Linked DNA regions of Homo sapiens: all the other regions are linked to region 1. Evidence: promoter capture Hi-C in human tissues and cell types (Jung and others, 2019). All regions are on one chromosome and are shown on one strand. Each heading gives the region's core, a stretch centred on a gene start or on the middle of the fragment in contact. The rest is flanking DNA. Distances are from core to core; before and after follow the strand shown. Region 1 holds the start of PIGZ (phosphatidylinositol glycan anchor biosynthesis class Z (Gwada blood group)). Region 2 overlaps LOC105374308 (a long non-coding RNA gene). Region 3 overlaps DLG1 (discs large MAGUK scaffold protein 1).

Region 1 (4,763 bases), core at 759-3,258:
TGCCCCATGAAAGGCCCACGGCAAACACCCACGCCCAAATCCCAGGAGCCCTGTCAGGGCAGAGTTGGCCTTTACAGTGGCTCTCCAGGGAGGTCTCAAGACCAAGGTAGAGGAAAATACAACACACACACGCCACACGGGCGACGCTCAGCTGCATGGTGCCAAGCGAAGAAAGCCAGGCACAAAAGACCACACGGTGAATGGTTCTCCTTGCATGCAATTGCGAGAGAGGCAAAGGGCAGTGACAGAAATCAGAGGAGCAGTTGTCTGGAACCAGGGCGGAGGGGAGGTGAGGGGTTAGCTGCAGAGGGGCAGGAGGGTACTTTTGGGAGGAGAGGACTTCTTGAACTCGGGGGGAGACTAGCCTGGTGGTTTCGCGTGTCAGAAGTCATGGAACTGAGCCGGGCATGGTGGCGGGGCCTGTGGTCCCAGCTGCTCGGGAGGCTGAGGCAGGAGGATCGCTGGAGCCTAGAAGTTCAAGGCTGCGGTGAGCCGAGATCGTGCCACCGCACTCCAGCCTGGGCGACAGAGACCCTGTATCTAAAAAATAAAGGAAAAAATTCATGGAACTGTATACTTCCATGTACTGTACTTAAATTTCCTGGTATTTATCGTATGTATAGAATACCTCACATCTTAATAAAGTCGTCGTTTTTAGTGTGAGGGGTGCTATGGGGCACGGAGGGCGATCCGGCTGCCGACCCTCGGCGGCGGCGCGGGAGTGCGAGGCCGGCGGGGAGGTCGGGTCCTGCGGCCTCGCCGGGGCCCCTGCAGCGCTCTCCCGCCAGGGGGCAGCGTCGGGCCGGCGGCGCGGGCGGGAAGCTCCAGCGGCCGGGACGCGGTGGTGCCGTCTTCCCCCTGCGGTGAGGGACCGCGTCGCGCCACCCCGCTCTCAGCGCAGCCCGCAGCGGCGAGGCCACCGGGTGGGACACGGGTGCCCGCGCGTCGCGCCGCAGCTCGCGGGGACCTGGCGCCCCGTCCCGGGAGGGGATCTGGCCCCCGGGCGCCGGCTCTCCGTCCACGCGGCGTCCTCCCTGCAGCCCGCTAGGGCCGCTCGCCCGTCGCCGCCTGCGGAACGCGGAGGGGCAGCACGGCCACGCCCGGCCACTCGAACCTGCTCCCCGGCGCCGCGTGACCGTGTCAGGTCCCCGTCGGCCTCGCCGTGCCGACCCCGGGCGCCTCCACAGTGGCTCGGAGGCCGCTGCTGCCCGGATGCCCGGGTTCCACGAGGCTCTCCCAGCCCGACAAGCCCGCCGATCCCACGGGCACGGGCGGAGGAGAGGGAACCGCCGCGCCCGCCCCGCGCGCCGTCGCCGACCCCGGTGGGTCGCGCTTCCCCGCGCACGCCGCGCTCTGGCGCGGGGAGAGGCCCCTCGGGGTCCGCCCGGGTCAGCGTCCCGCGGGGGTGGCGGCCGTTCGCTCAGCCTCCTCTCGACTTCCCTTTCCTGTCAGGGCTGCTGGGGCTGACAGGCTCCCGGGCAACCACGCCGGGGAACCCCTCACGCCCGCCGATCGCTGCGGGGCTCAGCAGCCGCCCCGTGCGCTGAGTCCCCTGTCATGAGTGACTCCATTGCGAGGCGTTTCGGGCCACGAAGCAGGACCGGGGGCCGCACTCCGGGTCCCCGCCCTGCCCTCGCCGACCTCCCGCGCGTGGAAGGGGGACGGCGGCGGCGGAGCTCCCCGCCACGGAGAACCCCGAAATGGTCATTTCGAACGAGAGGAGTGTGGCCTGGGGTGTCTGGTTTAACAGCCCCCCGCGCCGAAAGGCTGTTCGCCGAGGAGGGGCCGCCGGGGAGGGAGCCCGAGCGCGGCGGGGCGAGACCGGTCCCCGCCCGGCGTTGCCCGGCCCGAGGGACGGCGGCGCCCCCAGGACCCTCCCCAGCGCGGCCCCAGCTCGCTCCGGGACCGCGGGGCCAGGCCGGGCGGGAGCGCGGGGACGTACACGGCGGCCCCGCCCGCGCGCTCCTCCTCCCTCCCGGCCCGCCCTGCGCCGGCGGCGGCGGCCCCAGTCTCCGCGCTGCTGAGGCGCGCCCGGCCGCTCCCACGGCCTCCCCTCCGCCCTGCGGTCCCGCCGCCTCCGGGGCCTCCTGGGACCCTGGCCCTCGCCGGGCAGGACGCCGCCAGCGCTGAAGGCGCAGCCCGGAGGCCGCGCGGGTGAGTCGGTGCGCAGCCCCAGCGGCTCCAGAGGAGCGGGTGCGGGGAGGGCGAGCGGACCAAGTCGGCCGCGTTCCCACCTTGCGCGCAGCCGGGAGACCAGCAGGCCCAGCCTCTAGGGAGGAGGGCAGGGGAGCTGGGGGCCGCCCCCCGCATTCTCGCAGGCACCTGTCCCTAGGCCGGGGTCCGCTGGCTCGAAGCACTGACCCGCCCCGGACCTAGGGGGACGGAGGCAGCGGTGACATTTGCCCAGGAAGGGCGGCAGTGGGTAAACTCCACTCCAGGGCACGGGTCTGGGCGCAGGTTGAGGCCTGGGGTTGAATCTGCTTCTGCTAGAGGCCAGTGTTCTCAGGGAGGCCCATAACCCGACTGGGTCTCAGTTCCCCCTGGTATGAAACAGCAACAGGGCAAGAGGAGGAAACCATGCCACGCTGCAAAGCTCTGAGCACGAAGCCGAGAAGAATCTCGGCTCCCGGCCTCGGGGGCTGCACTTCGGGCCAGGCCTGCACTCCCAGGATAAGAGGATGGCCTCCTGCCCCAGGGGTGGCATGGGGGCGCGCAAAAAGCAAAGGTGACCCTGCCAGGGAGCACCCAGCGCTCCGGTTGGTGGTCATGGGGTCTTTGCGTGGGACTCACAGTGTGGCCGGGAAAGTTCTGTAATGAGGACATTTCTCATCATTCCTTCTTCTCAAAAGTCATTCGTCAGCCCCAGACACCTTTGCCTCGGAAAACTGAGAACTACTTTCAAAATCGTCAACACCCCCATCTCCTGCTACAGAGCGGAGTCCCCACTTTGCAGAGGCGCACTGCAAGGTCGCGGGTGGTTAAATGGTGCGCCCTCCTTGATGAAGATGCCTTGTTCTCTTTCACTCTCTATGTGTGTTTAATGTTGTGTGTTGCGTTCTCTGTGAAGCGAAGGATAAACACGGGCCCTTTCAGGCAACCGAAGGAAGAAGGCGGCCAGCATCAGATCTTCCCGTGCTTCAAGGTGGAGCACCCTGCAGGGCTTACTGCAGCGCTCAGGGTCAAAGTGAGGATGCAGTGCGGCACCAAAAGGCAAATGGACTCTGGAGAGCCACTCTCACCTTGTACCCCTGGAGTAGACCCCGAGGACTGGAGGACTGGAACAAGATCTTAGTCCTGAGGGCGGGAGAAGCAGCCTTTGGTGGTTGCACAGGGGCCCGGCTTTTCCCGAAGTCTTAAAGCCTGCTCCAAATGCCAGATTCAGACAAAGGGGCCGAACCTTGGGCCCGCCGCCTTCTCCCATAAGCGGCAACCCAGCAGCTTTGCCAGGAAGTTTACATGTGAAGGTACGGACCTTTCTTGGAATGAGCCACACCTGATGGCCCTGCCACTCCGGACGGCGCTCGTTCACGGCTGTCCCTGGAGCAGACACGGTTCTGCGCACACACCTGGGCGCCGGAGAAACAGGGCACCCAAAGCGGGCCCAGGCCCTCGGACTCAGCGAGCTGGACACGTGTCCCCATCACCCGCGGCTGGCGGGAGCAGTGTTTCTACTCCCTTCCCTCCCCTCCTCCCGCCCCGCAGATGTGCTGTCTTTCCCGGCCTCCCCCCGCGCCCAGCACAGTGGTTTCTGCTTGGCTGTTCCCCTGTCTCTGAGATGGTCTCTCCCTGCTGCTTGCCCTACACATTCTCCCACACAGGCGCGCGGGATGCCCCTGTCGGCGTGGTTGTCAATGCCTGCTCCCCTGCCCCCCAGTCCAATCTCCACGACTCTGGGCCCTGTCGCTTCATCCTAAAGCCTTCCGCTCACGAGCCCTCCCGACGACCGACCCCCAGGAGGCTACTGGAGATGCAGGATTTGGACCCGTGCTGGACCCGCACCCGGACAGATCCCTCTGAATGAATGAATGAATTAATGAGCAGGCTGCATCCTGATTAGGTTAAGGTGGGTGGTTGCCATGCTTGGCGTTGGCTCTGTCCCCTGGGATAAAAGGCGAGAGGCAGCCACATGGACAGCTCCTCCAGTGGGGTCTCAGACTGGAGAGACGCCAGCGGGCGGGGGTCGTTCCCTGGAGCTCCCGCATTTGTTATGGTCGATGCCCCACTACGTTGTCACCTTCTCCGGAGGACCTCCTGCTCTGTCCTTGACAGATGGGCCCCAGTGGGCCCACCCAGGCTGGAGATGAATCTCAAAGGGACTCCATGCCTGGGAGACCTCAGCCAAGCAGGGCAGAGAAATAATCAGACAACAGTCAGCGCATGGCGCCTGCAGAGTTTTGCACAGGGTCCTTCAGAAGGAGGGTTAGGGAAGACTTCTTGGGGGTTAGGGCAGTTAAGCAAGATGGATAAAGAAAGCAACCACTTATGTCTGCATATTTTCTTCATTTCATCTTCACAACAGCCCTGAGATAGGTACTTGTTTTAAAGCTGAGGTATAAATTGGGGTTCAGAGAGATTGAGTGCTTTCACCATGAACAAGTGACAGAGAGCAACGACTTGAACCGGGTTACCTGATGCCACCGCTGGTCTTAACCTCCATGTTATTAGCGTATTGGGTAAGTGAAACCGTGTGAGCCAAGAAGCTGGGGTGAGAAACAGCACGGAATAGAGGAGAGGGCTGCAGAAAGGCGTGATGTTTCTGGAGC
Region 2 (4,763 bases), core at 969-3,468, 450 kb before region 1:
TCTACTAAAGATACAAAAATTAGCTGGGTGTGGTGGCGGATGCCTGTAATCCCAGCTACTCGGGAGTCTGAGGTAGGAGAATTGCTTGAACCTGGGAGGCAGATGTTGCAGTGAGCCAAGATCATGCCACTGGACTCTAAAAAAAAAAAAAAATTATGTATTGTCCAATATATCCAGAATGTTATCATCTCAGGCATGTAATGAGTATTTTTGAAAGTATTAATGAGATATTTTACATTTTTTGAACTAAATCTTCCACTCCGGTGTATATTTTATACTTACAGTGCATCTCCGTTCAGATCAGCCGCATTTCCAATGCTCGGGAGCAGCGCATGCTTACTTGCTACCGTGTCAGAGGCGGCACTGGGCTAGGCGATGGGTGGGCTTATGAATTCTTAAAACATATATTTCCACGTTTTCTACCATAAATGTGCATTTTACATTTTATTTAGAAAATTATAGTCTATAAATATAATCTTATCTAGGTTTTGTTTATTTTCTATTTTATTTTAGTAGAAATTTCCTCTTTAAAATCCGGGCTTTGTCTGCATCTGTGGTGGTCTAAGAATAAAAGGGGCTACTTCCTTTTTGAGAGAGTGAGCCCAGAAAGCATCGACTGGGCAAGGACTACACTCGGCTCAACTTTGGAACCTCAGGAAGAGGTCCTCGTGGTGGCAGACAGAGGGGACTGCACCAGGGTGGACACCTGGGTGGGAACCTGGGCGGGCCGAGGCCTCCTCTCTGCCTGGTGCGGCTTCCTGCATAGGTCTGACCACCACTCAGACCAAAGCCACCCCGCCCCAGAACTGGGGTCTGACCAGACATCTCTCACTGGCCCCCACTTACAAATATGCAACTCTTTCTTAGCAGCTGCATGTCTTCAAGGAATGATGGGACACTATGTTTAAGCTCCAGAAATCGAAGCAGGACTCAAAGAAGCAGGCCAGTTCTGCTCTGCCCCCAAAGGTGAGTGCTTACTCTTTACTGCTGCATTTTGGAACAGTAAAAAAATAATCGTTTACAGCAGAGCATCAGAGAATGCACAGTCCAAGGCTTATAGGAAATACTTGCAGGTTGGTTAGCTGGTTGGCTAGTTGGTTGGTTGGGAAACATCTGCTGTGGGAAGGTAGAAGAGAATTGGCCCTGTGGCTAGAGACAGCTTGGAAATGGAAAGAACCCTGAACTGGGCTCAGGACCAGGTCCCCTGACCTCTCTATGTGACCTTGAGCAATGCACTTCCCTACCTGGGACGTCATGTTCCTCCACAGACAGGGGATTAAATAGGTATCACGAGATAACTTCTGAGACCCATTGCGGTGAAAGCATTTTGTGATTTTTGCCTCTGGAGGAAGTATTGAAAAGTCAGACAGTCCAAAGATGAATTTTAAAATGACTTCCAAGTCTGATTCCTGGGACAGTTGGGGCCAGAAGAGGAGAACAACCTGCATTTACCATTAGGACCAACATGAAGTGGAAAAGAACTGCCCCAGAGCCAGGGACCTGAGTAGGCAGGACTCGATGAGAACCGCCTGGGCAGACAGCATCAGCAGACACAATACTGCTGATTTTTTTTTCCCAATGGAAAAGTCCTTTTTGTCTGAGGCAATGTTTTCCACAGCTCTAGGGGACTGTGGTCATTTCCTAACAAGATTTTTCCTATTTTGTGCAGCTGGGGTCTGGCATTGGAAACACTGAGTGTTTTCAGGCTGAAACTCACTTAGGTCCTCCAGGGCCAAAGGCTGCTGGGTAAATTCAGGGTTTGGTGCAATCTGTGCTATAGTCTCTGCCCCTCAAACCATGGGGCACTGCCCTTTTCTTTAATACTTTGGAATTATAGCATTAGATACATAAAATTACAAAATATCAGAGCTGTAAAGACTTTGAGAGGCCACCTAGTCTATTCTTCTTCTAGAGAAGGGGAAACTGAAGCCCAGAAAAGGAGAGGAACTGACTCCAAGCCACACGTTCAATTAGAGAGAAGCCCACCCTCCTGACTCTTGATCCAGGTCCTCTGGACTCTCAGCCAACACCTGTCCACTGCACTTCCTCCTTTGGGGATGTGGGGAGTGAGGTGACCAGGAGAAGGTCACTTAGAAGGTCACTTAGAAGGTCAGTTAGAAGAGAAACTAACTGGCTATGAATGATTTCATATGTTTCAACCTTACGCCTCTACCTCCTGGTTACCTGATGATACCTCTCTCTCTATTTCCTGATTACTCCTCCTGGTTACCTGATGATACCTCTCTCTCTGTTTCCTGATTACTCCATCCTTGTTCTTTGGCTTTCAGTGTTTATTAGAGATAATAGATGGACTACATGCACACACAGGTTCATTCCATTGACGTTCACCAAGAGCCTTCCACTGCTGAGGATGCAAGATGAGTAAGTTACAGGTCCACTGTAGCCTGGGAGAGTCACTTTCCCTGTCCGAAGCAGTGAGCATAGCAGAGTCCAACTAAAGCACTGCTCAGGTGGCACAGAGAAGGGGTTTGCTCTGTCTAGCGCAGATCGGGGATTGCAGAAGAAGATTGATTGGCAAACAGAGATCTAACTATACATAATCGATGCCGATATTTTGCTTATTTGGTAAAGGAGTTGAAATCAATTTCTAGCATATGGGTAGGTGTTTGTATTTAATTTATCATGACCATCAGGCAAGGGCCATGAGAAACAGGGTCTCCCCTGGATTCAGCCTCATATGGTTCTGCCTCAGGTGGCAATTTCACAGCGCCTTTCTCTACTTCATCTTTTCTGGTATTAGCTTACACTGCTGACTAAATGCACCTGGCCTGTTCATAGCCTAAAAGCCTCTGCCAAAGTCTTTCTCATCCCACTGAAGACACAGCCTTCGGGAAGGGACAGCAGGCTAAGCCAAGCTGAGCCTGTGCCTGTGCCTTTGTCACATTCTGGAGCCACAATGGGACTAGGGACTCCCTTTCCACCGGGAGGCTGGGAGAGAGTACGATGGGAGTCAATCTTCCAGGTCTCTTTGAAAAGAAAGTCAGTTTGAAAATGTCGAACACCTGGCTCAGTTAGACCTTTCTCCAGGTTGTCATTTACTTAGAAAAGGAGCACTATTCAAGCCTTAAATGTCAGCTTCTTGCCTCTAAAACTGTGGGATCGGGTAAACCCCTGGGCACTTCAGCCTGTACTCCTATACCAAGGGCTGGGCTCCCTGGCTGTTAGTGGAGGGCAGCAGACACCCTGCCCAGGAATCCTATACCAAGGGCTGGGCTCCCTGGCTGTTAGTGGAGGGCAGCAGACACCCCGCCCAGGAGTCAGCCCCAGGGAAATGTCCACTAGGTACCAAAGATTCTGGGATTTCGGTTTGTCTGTGAGTTTCATGCATCTCATTCCTGAGGGCAGTTCCTAAATCTTTACCCTTGTATGTTTGAAAGATGACAACTCTTTAAAAACACGACTAGACCTGAGCTTTAAGTCCCAAGCTTGGGTCCCTTTACCTGGCAGCTCTTCCTATATCCAGCCAGCCGCCTTCTATGAGCTAATCCCTGTCTTGGCTCCTGCCTGTGCACTGCCTTCCCCATCCCTGTGAGGCACCATATGCTTAATGATACCCTCTAAAGAGGACGAATCTCCCTTAGCTGTCCTCTAACATTTGGAATGTACTGTCCCCTCTACAGTGTTAAAAACCAAAACAAAACAAAATAAATTAAGCTCTAATGCAGCTGGAGAGCTAATGGACCTCTCTTTCCCAGGAAAAGGAAAACAAAGATTCCAACCATTTGCAGCTCCTGAAAAATTCCGCCGACAGATGATCAGCCTCATTCCAGGCTAACTAACTGCTAACGAGCTTGAATTCGCCTATTCAGGGAATGTCCTTTGTTCACTTCTCTGCTACCTGAATTGTCTTCCCACTCTGCCTTCAGACACACTGAGCCAGAAGTTCAGCTCGGGTGCAAGAGATGGCAAAATGTGAGCCTCGAATCATCAGAGATCACCACAGTGCTGTCTTGAAATTCAAGGCAATATGAGTGTGTTACTGGGCTCAGTATCAGCCGGTATTACGAGAAACACTGGGGCATTTCCAGTGCAGATTATTTTAAATGGGAGAGTTCTTTTTTACTGTCACTTCTCCATTCTGGTCATAGAATGATTATTGACCATTATTGGGCCCTAACCATATTCACAAAACGTGGCTCTCACCCAGTATTTCCACATTATTGCTCTAGATTGCTTTAAATGGAATATACACACAGTAATGAGTCAGTTTTAGTGGAAGAGGCTTATCCTCAAGCCTTACATAACTGCACTGTAGTCTTGACTTTGTTCCTGTCCAGCTACTGGGCTGAAGACAGACAAAACAAGTCAGCCAACTCAGTTTAACACCTCCCTCGACCGTGCCTCCCCTTGCCCCGACACACGCCAGATTAACACTCTTCTCAGGCATCATTCAGAACAACGGCTCTCAATTCTGGCTGCAAACAGAATCATCAGGGAGCTTTTTAAAAACAAAAGAAAAAAAATCAATACCCAGGCCCTACTCCAAATCAATTAAAATAGATTTTGGGGGGATGGGCCTCAGGCATGGGAATTTTTATAAAGCTGCCGTGTTTATACCGACGTGCGCCATAAATGGGAATCTCTGTTTTAAACTTGACCAAAATTAATGATTAGAGGTTTTGCTTGCACACCAAGCAGGCAAATTTAATATTTAATATTTATATAAAACTTAAGATCATCACTCTTGGAATCAAATAAAACCAACAGAAAGGTACAACTATATAGTGCAACCAAGTTGCACA
Region 3 (4,763 bases), core at 834-3,333, 320 kb before region 1:
CACACATTTTGAAAACAGTGTTTAGTAATCAGGGTTTGAGATCTTCCAGCTATAGTGGTAAAATGTCAAAATTTCTTAAATTTCTTTTGCATTATATTAGTCCCACTGATGTTACATTTTAGTCTCTTGCTAACTGTGTGTGTGTGTGTGTGTGTGTGTGTGTGTGTGTGTGTGTAACTTTGTAGGCTAGATTTGAGTAAGGAAAACAGGATATGGATCACATCGTTGGCTGAAACTTCCTGAAATGGAGAATTTTAGTAACTTCTCACTTGATGGTTTTGATTCAATTAGATTGAGTTCTTTGCTCATAGTTTGCTTACTACTGCTCTGAAGCAGTGTTTTGATTATGTTGAATCTGGCTGAATTCTCTTTAGAACCTTGGAATCAGAGTTGTAAAGGCATCTAAATATTTCTTCTAAGCCATTTCCTCTCTGCAGGGTCATATTTTTCCTCAGTGCAGAATCCAGACTTGGACCAGATATTACCGTTAGTTGTCACGTCTCTTTACTTAGGGCACATTTCCACAGCTTTTCTTTGTCTTGTGTGAGACTGACTTTTTTTTTTTTTTTTTTTTTTTTACTATTTGGAGACAGGGTCTTGCTCTGCCACCCAGGCTGGAGTGCAGTGGTGGCTTACTGCAACCTCTGCTTCCCAGGCTCAAGCAATCCTCCTGCCTCAGGCTCCTGAGTAGCTGGGACTACAGGTGTGAGCCCCCACGCCTGGCTAACTTTTTCTAGAGACAGGTGTTGCCCAGGCTGGTCTCGAACTCCTGAGCAAAGTTCTGGGATTACAGGTGTGAGCCACTGCGCCCAGCTGAGATTGATGATTTTGAAAAACGCAGTTCCTTCCACTCTTACTTTTTTTTAATATAATTTTCTCATTTTGGGTTTGTCTGATGTTTCCTTGTGATTAGATTCAGGTTTTGTATTCCTGGCTTAGGATTCTGTACATCCAGAGGTACACAGAGTCATCTGCTCTTTGTTGATGATACTGATTTTGATTACCTAGTTGGGTGTTGTCTGAATTCTGTATCCTATAGTCATTGTTTTTTACCCCTTGTGGCTTATAGGCAATATGTGGGGGAGACACTTTAACACCATGTACATATCCTACTCCTTAGCAAAATTTCCACCCATATTTAGCATCCATTGATGATTCTTGAACCGGTTTATAATATGGTTGTTGAAAAGTAAGATTTCTAACAGTAACACTCCTAGGTTTACCAGTTAACACTTTGCATTTTATTCTAAACAAGAGCCTTCCTTCTTTTTTTCCCGTGTCTTTCATGAACTTGCAGATACCTGTTTTTTTTTCAATGACTTATCATTTATTACCATCCTTAATGACATTTGTGCTCTGAGTGATCCAGTGGGGGCCCTTTCAAGCTTGTGTCCTTATGAGATGCCCTCATCATTTTTTGGAGCACTTTCTTAATTTTTGGCATAACAAGATGTTCCAGGTTTATCTTGTACCTCTCCTGCCCCAGCCCTGGAATCAGCCATTTCTCTGAGAAGCTCTGGTTCCTTTTAGTACACACCTTGTTTTATGGAATATGCTTGTGAGTCATGTATGATTCTTAGTCTAATAGTATCTAAAGTATTCAAGTGATTTATTTTTGCCTACTAGCTTGACATCTTTCCTTTCTTTAGTGTGTGAAACAATAGTACAAACTTTTAAATTTTATAGGATATTCTTTCTTCTAGGGGTCAAAAATGACTTTTTAAATGAACATTGGTTTAGAAGAAAGAGTATTTGTGCTTGAGTAGATTTGACTATTGTGGTATTATCTTAGTATGTCATCTGCCCTTCACTGATGATGTTAATTTTGATTACTCAATTGGGTATTGTCTGAATAATCATACTTGCTTTTAGTAAATGAACTGATAGAATTTTTTTCCTCTGAAATGGTAGGGTTATATTTCAGTGTTCTTCAGCTTTCTAGTTGCCTTTCCTGTAACCCTCCAAAATAAATTTATTATAAAAATGATGCATGTTCTATATAAAACATTTGAGATCAGATTATTATATGTAAAATACCATAAGAAAATATTCACACCAGAGGTTACCTCCTACTTCATCCATGGGATGAATATCCTGGAATGTTATTTGTGTGTGTGTGTGTGTGTGTGTGTGTATGCGCGTGTATACACGCCACCCCCCACCTTCATTTTGCAAAACAAACTTCTAAGTAAAACAGTTATTTCCCTTGTGAGAATTGATACTTAAAATCAGCATGTAAGGTGAAAAACCTCATCTAGTTAAAATTATCCCTGAAAAGCCTTCAGAAATTTAACACTAGCTCTTGTTAATTACAGCACAATTGTTTTTTTTCCTCTAGTGGAAAGGAATGATTTCTTCACTTGAGCCCTAGACGAAGCAACTGGCTTGTTTGACTTCTTGTACTAAAAACACGTAATTATAGAATCACACTCAGCACAGTGAGATATAGCAAGAAGCTCACATTTTGAGAGGCACATGAAAACTCAGACTACCTAAAGGAAGAATCTTCTTCCTTCTCATTTTTTTATTTGTGACAGTCACTTATTGGGTAGACAGAGTTGCCCTTTTTTGCAGGGGAGATATACTGCAGTTGTATTTGTATAAGTGTGAATAGTATGATTTCTCTGTACTATACATATTGTTTTTATCTTCTAAAGTTTATCGACAAATGTCTTTCCATGTCAGTAGATTTCTACCATTTTATGTATGTATGTATGTATGTATGTATGTATTTTTTTTTTTTTTTTTTTTTTTTTGAGACAGTTTCACTCTTGTTGCCCAGGCTGGAGTGCAATGGCTTGATCTCAGCTCACCACAACCTCCGCCTCCTAGGTTCAAGCGATTCTCCTGCCTCAGCCTCCTGAATAGCTGGGATTACAGGCATGTGCCACCACGCCTGGCTAATTTTGTATTTTTAATACAGACAGGGTTTCTTCATGTTGGTCAGGTTGGTCTCGAACTCCTGACCTCAGGTGATCCGCCCGCCTCAGCCTCTCGAAGTGCTGGGATTACATGCATGAACCACTGTGCCTGGCCAGATTCGTACCATTTTAAGTGACTGTGTATATAGATTTTTTTTTTCCTTTTCTTTTCTTTTTTTTTTTTTTTTTTTTGAGACGGAGTCTTGATCTGTCACCAGGCTGGAGTGTAGTGGTGCAATCTCGGCTCACTGCTACCTCTGCCTCCTGGGTTCAAGTGATTCTCCTGCCTCAGCCTCCTGAGTAGCTGGGATTACAGGCGTGCGCCACCACGCCTAGCTAGTTTTTGCATTTTTAGTAGAGACAGGGTTTCACCATGTTGGCCAGGATGGTCTCGATCTCTTGACCTCCTGATCTGCCTGCTTCAGGCTCCCAAAGTGCTGGGATTACAGGTGTGAGCCACTGCACCCGGCCTATATAGATTTTCTGTAGTTTTTTTAATGGTTTCCTAGGAGCATTTAGGTTTGTAATTTTTGTGAATTATAAATATTGTATTTGCATATGCATTTTTGTTTCAATTCTTTACTATATTCTTAGGACAAACTCCTAGAAATGAATTGTTTGGTCAAAGGGAGTGTGCATTTTAAGGCTATTGAGGTAATTTGTTAAATACTCTTAGGAATGTTGTATTTATTTTTTAGGAAGTATGTGGAAGAATGACCAATTCACCATACCTTAAGCAATACAGAGTGTTATCCATCTTTTAAATATTTTCTACTCTGATATATGGAATATACCTTTAGTCATTTTTCTGTTTTATTGTGCATTTTGTTGATTAAAGAAATATCCAAAGCTGTAAGAAAGTCTTTAATTATTTTAATTTCTTTTGTAAATTATCTGTTTAATTTGTGCCCCTTCCTCCTCCTTTTTCCTTTTTCTTAGAGGTATAAAATCTACATTAGGCCTGTCAACTCTGCCGTGTAAATTGCAAATAACTTCCCGTGTTACTTGCTTTTAAACTTGGCTTTTAAAGAAAACATATATATATATGGTTGGGTTTATCAATATTTTTCTTTATCAATATACTGCTTTCTGCCCTTAATACGTTTGGAAACATTCCCAATGCTCTAAGCCCCAACATTATTATAATCTATTGCCAAGATTGTAAAAACCTGTATTCAAATTCTTTCAAGACTTTAACATTTTAATGCATTTGAAAATTATCTTGATATAAAGTATGAGATTGCCTTTTAATATAAGTTTATTTATCTCTCATGCAGTTTAAGAAATTAATAGATTTTTTTCAGCAGTTTTGAATTTACAGAAGAATTGAGTGGAAAGTACAGTTCCCATATCCCAAAGCCCCACTTCCCTTTTCCATCTTGTAGGCCATGTGTGGTGGCTCAACGCATGTAATCCCAACATTTTGGGAGGCCAGGGTGGGAGGATCCTTGAGCCCAGGAGTTTGAGACCAGCCTGGGCAACATAGTAAGACCCTGTCTTAGGAAAAAAAAAAATTTAACCAGGCATGGTGGCATGCACCTGTCGTCCCAGCTGCTTGGGAGCCTGAGGTAGGAGGATTTGTTGAGCCCAGGAGGTGAAGGCGCTACTGTACTGCAGCTTGAGTGACAGAGTGAGACTCTGTCTCTTTAAAAAAAAAAAAGGCCTGAGCTCAGGTGGCTCTTGTATATAATCCCAGCACTTGAGGAGGCCAAGGTGGTGGAATTGCTGGAGCCAGGGAGATAACAGCTGCAATGAGCATGATCATACCATTGCACTCCAGCCTGAGTGACCCTGTCTCAAAAACAAACCTTGCATTAGTGTGGTATATTTGTTAAAATTGAT

The links. Contacts are between HindIII fragments. The study calls those that stand out against the background at their distance.
Region 2: a contact is called between a fragment that was not itself captured here and the fragment with the promoter of PIGZ in region 1, in 1 of the 25 tissues and cell types used here (dorsolateral prefrontal cortex).
Region 3: a fragment that was not itself captured here is called in contact with the fragment with the promoter of PIGZ in region 1 in 1 of the 25 tissues and cell types used here (dorsolateral prefrontal cortex).

Annotation. Positions count from the first base shown.
Region 1 is chr3:196,966,078-196,970,840 of GRCh38, reverse strand. PIGZ (phosphatidylinositol glycan anchor biosynthesis class Z (Gwada blood group)) reads left to right here and starts at 2,008. Exons shown (of 3, transcript NM_025163.4): 1 at 2,008-2,154. LOC124906255 (collagen alpha-1(I) chain-like) reads right to left here and starts at 1,708. Exons shown (of 3, transcript XM_047449439.1): 1 at 1,592-1,708; 2 at 629-1,445; 3 at 1-540. The coding sequence starts at 1,708. The coding sequence ends at 630. RefSeq lists silencers at 669-888, 899-1,218, 1,329-1,388, 1,499-1,558, 1,569-1,778 and 1 more and enhancers at 824-1,359, 1,360-1,895, 1,896-2,431. The HindIII fragment of the contact is 30,202 bases long and covers 1-4,763 here.
Region 2 is chr3:197,417,183-197,421,945 of GRCh38, reverse strand. LOC105374308 (a long non-coding RNA gene) reads left to right here. Exons shown (of 5, transcript NR_189108.1): 4 at 868-966; 5 at 3,717-4,763. Among named protein-coding and RNA genes, the nearest start is that of LINC02012, 90 kb to the left of the region's middle. RefSeq lists a silencer at 3,614-3,908 and an enhancer at 3,520-4,035. The HindIII fragment of the contact is 7,267 bases long and covers 1-4,763 here.
Region 3 is chr3:197,286,713-197,291,475 of GRCh38, reverse strand. All of the region lies in intron 3 of DLG1 (discs large MAGUK scaffold protein 1), which reads left to right. Among named protein-coding and RNA genes, the nearest start is that of MIR4797, 4.9 kb to the left of the region's middle. The HindIII fragment of the contact is 4,093 bases long and covers 37-4,129 here.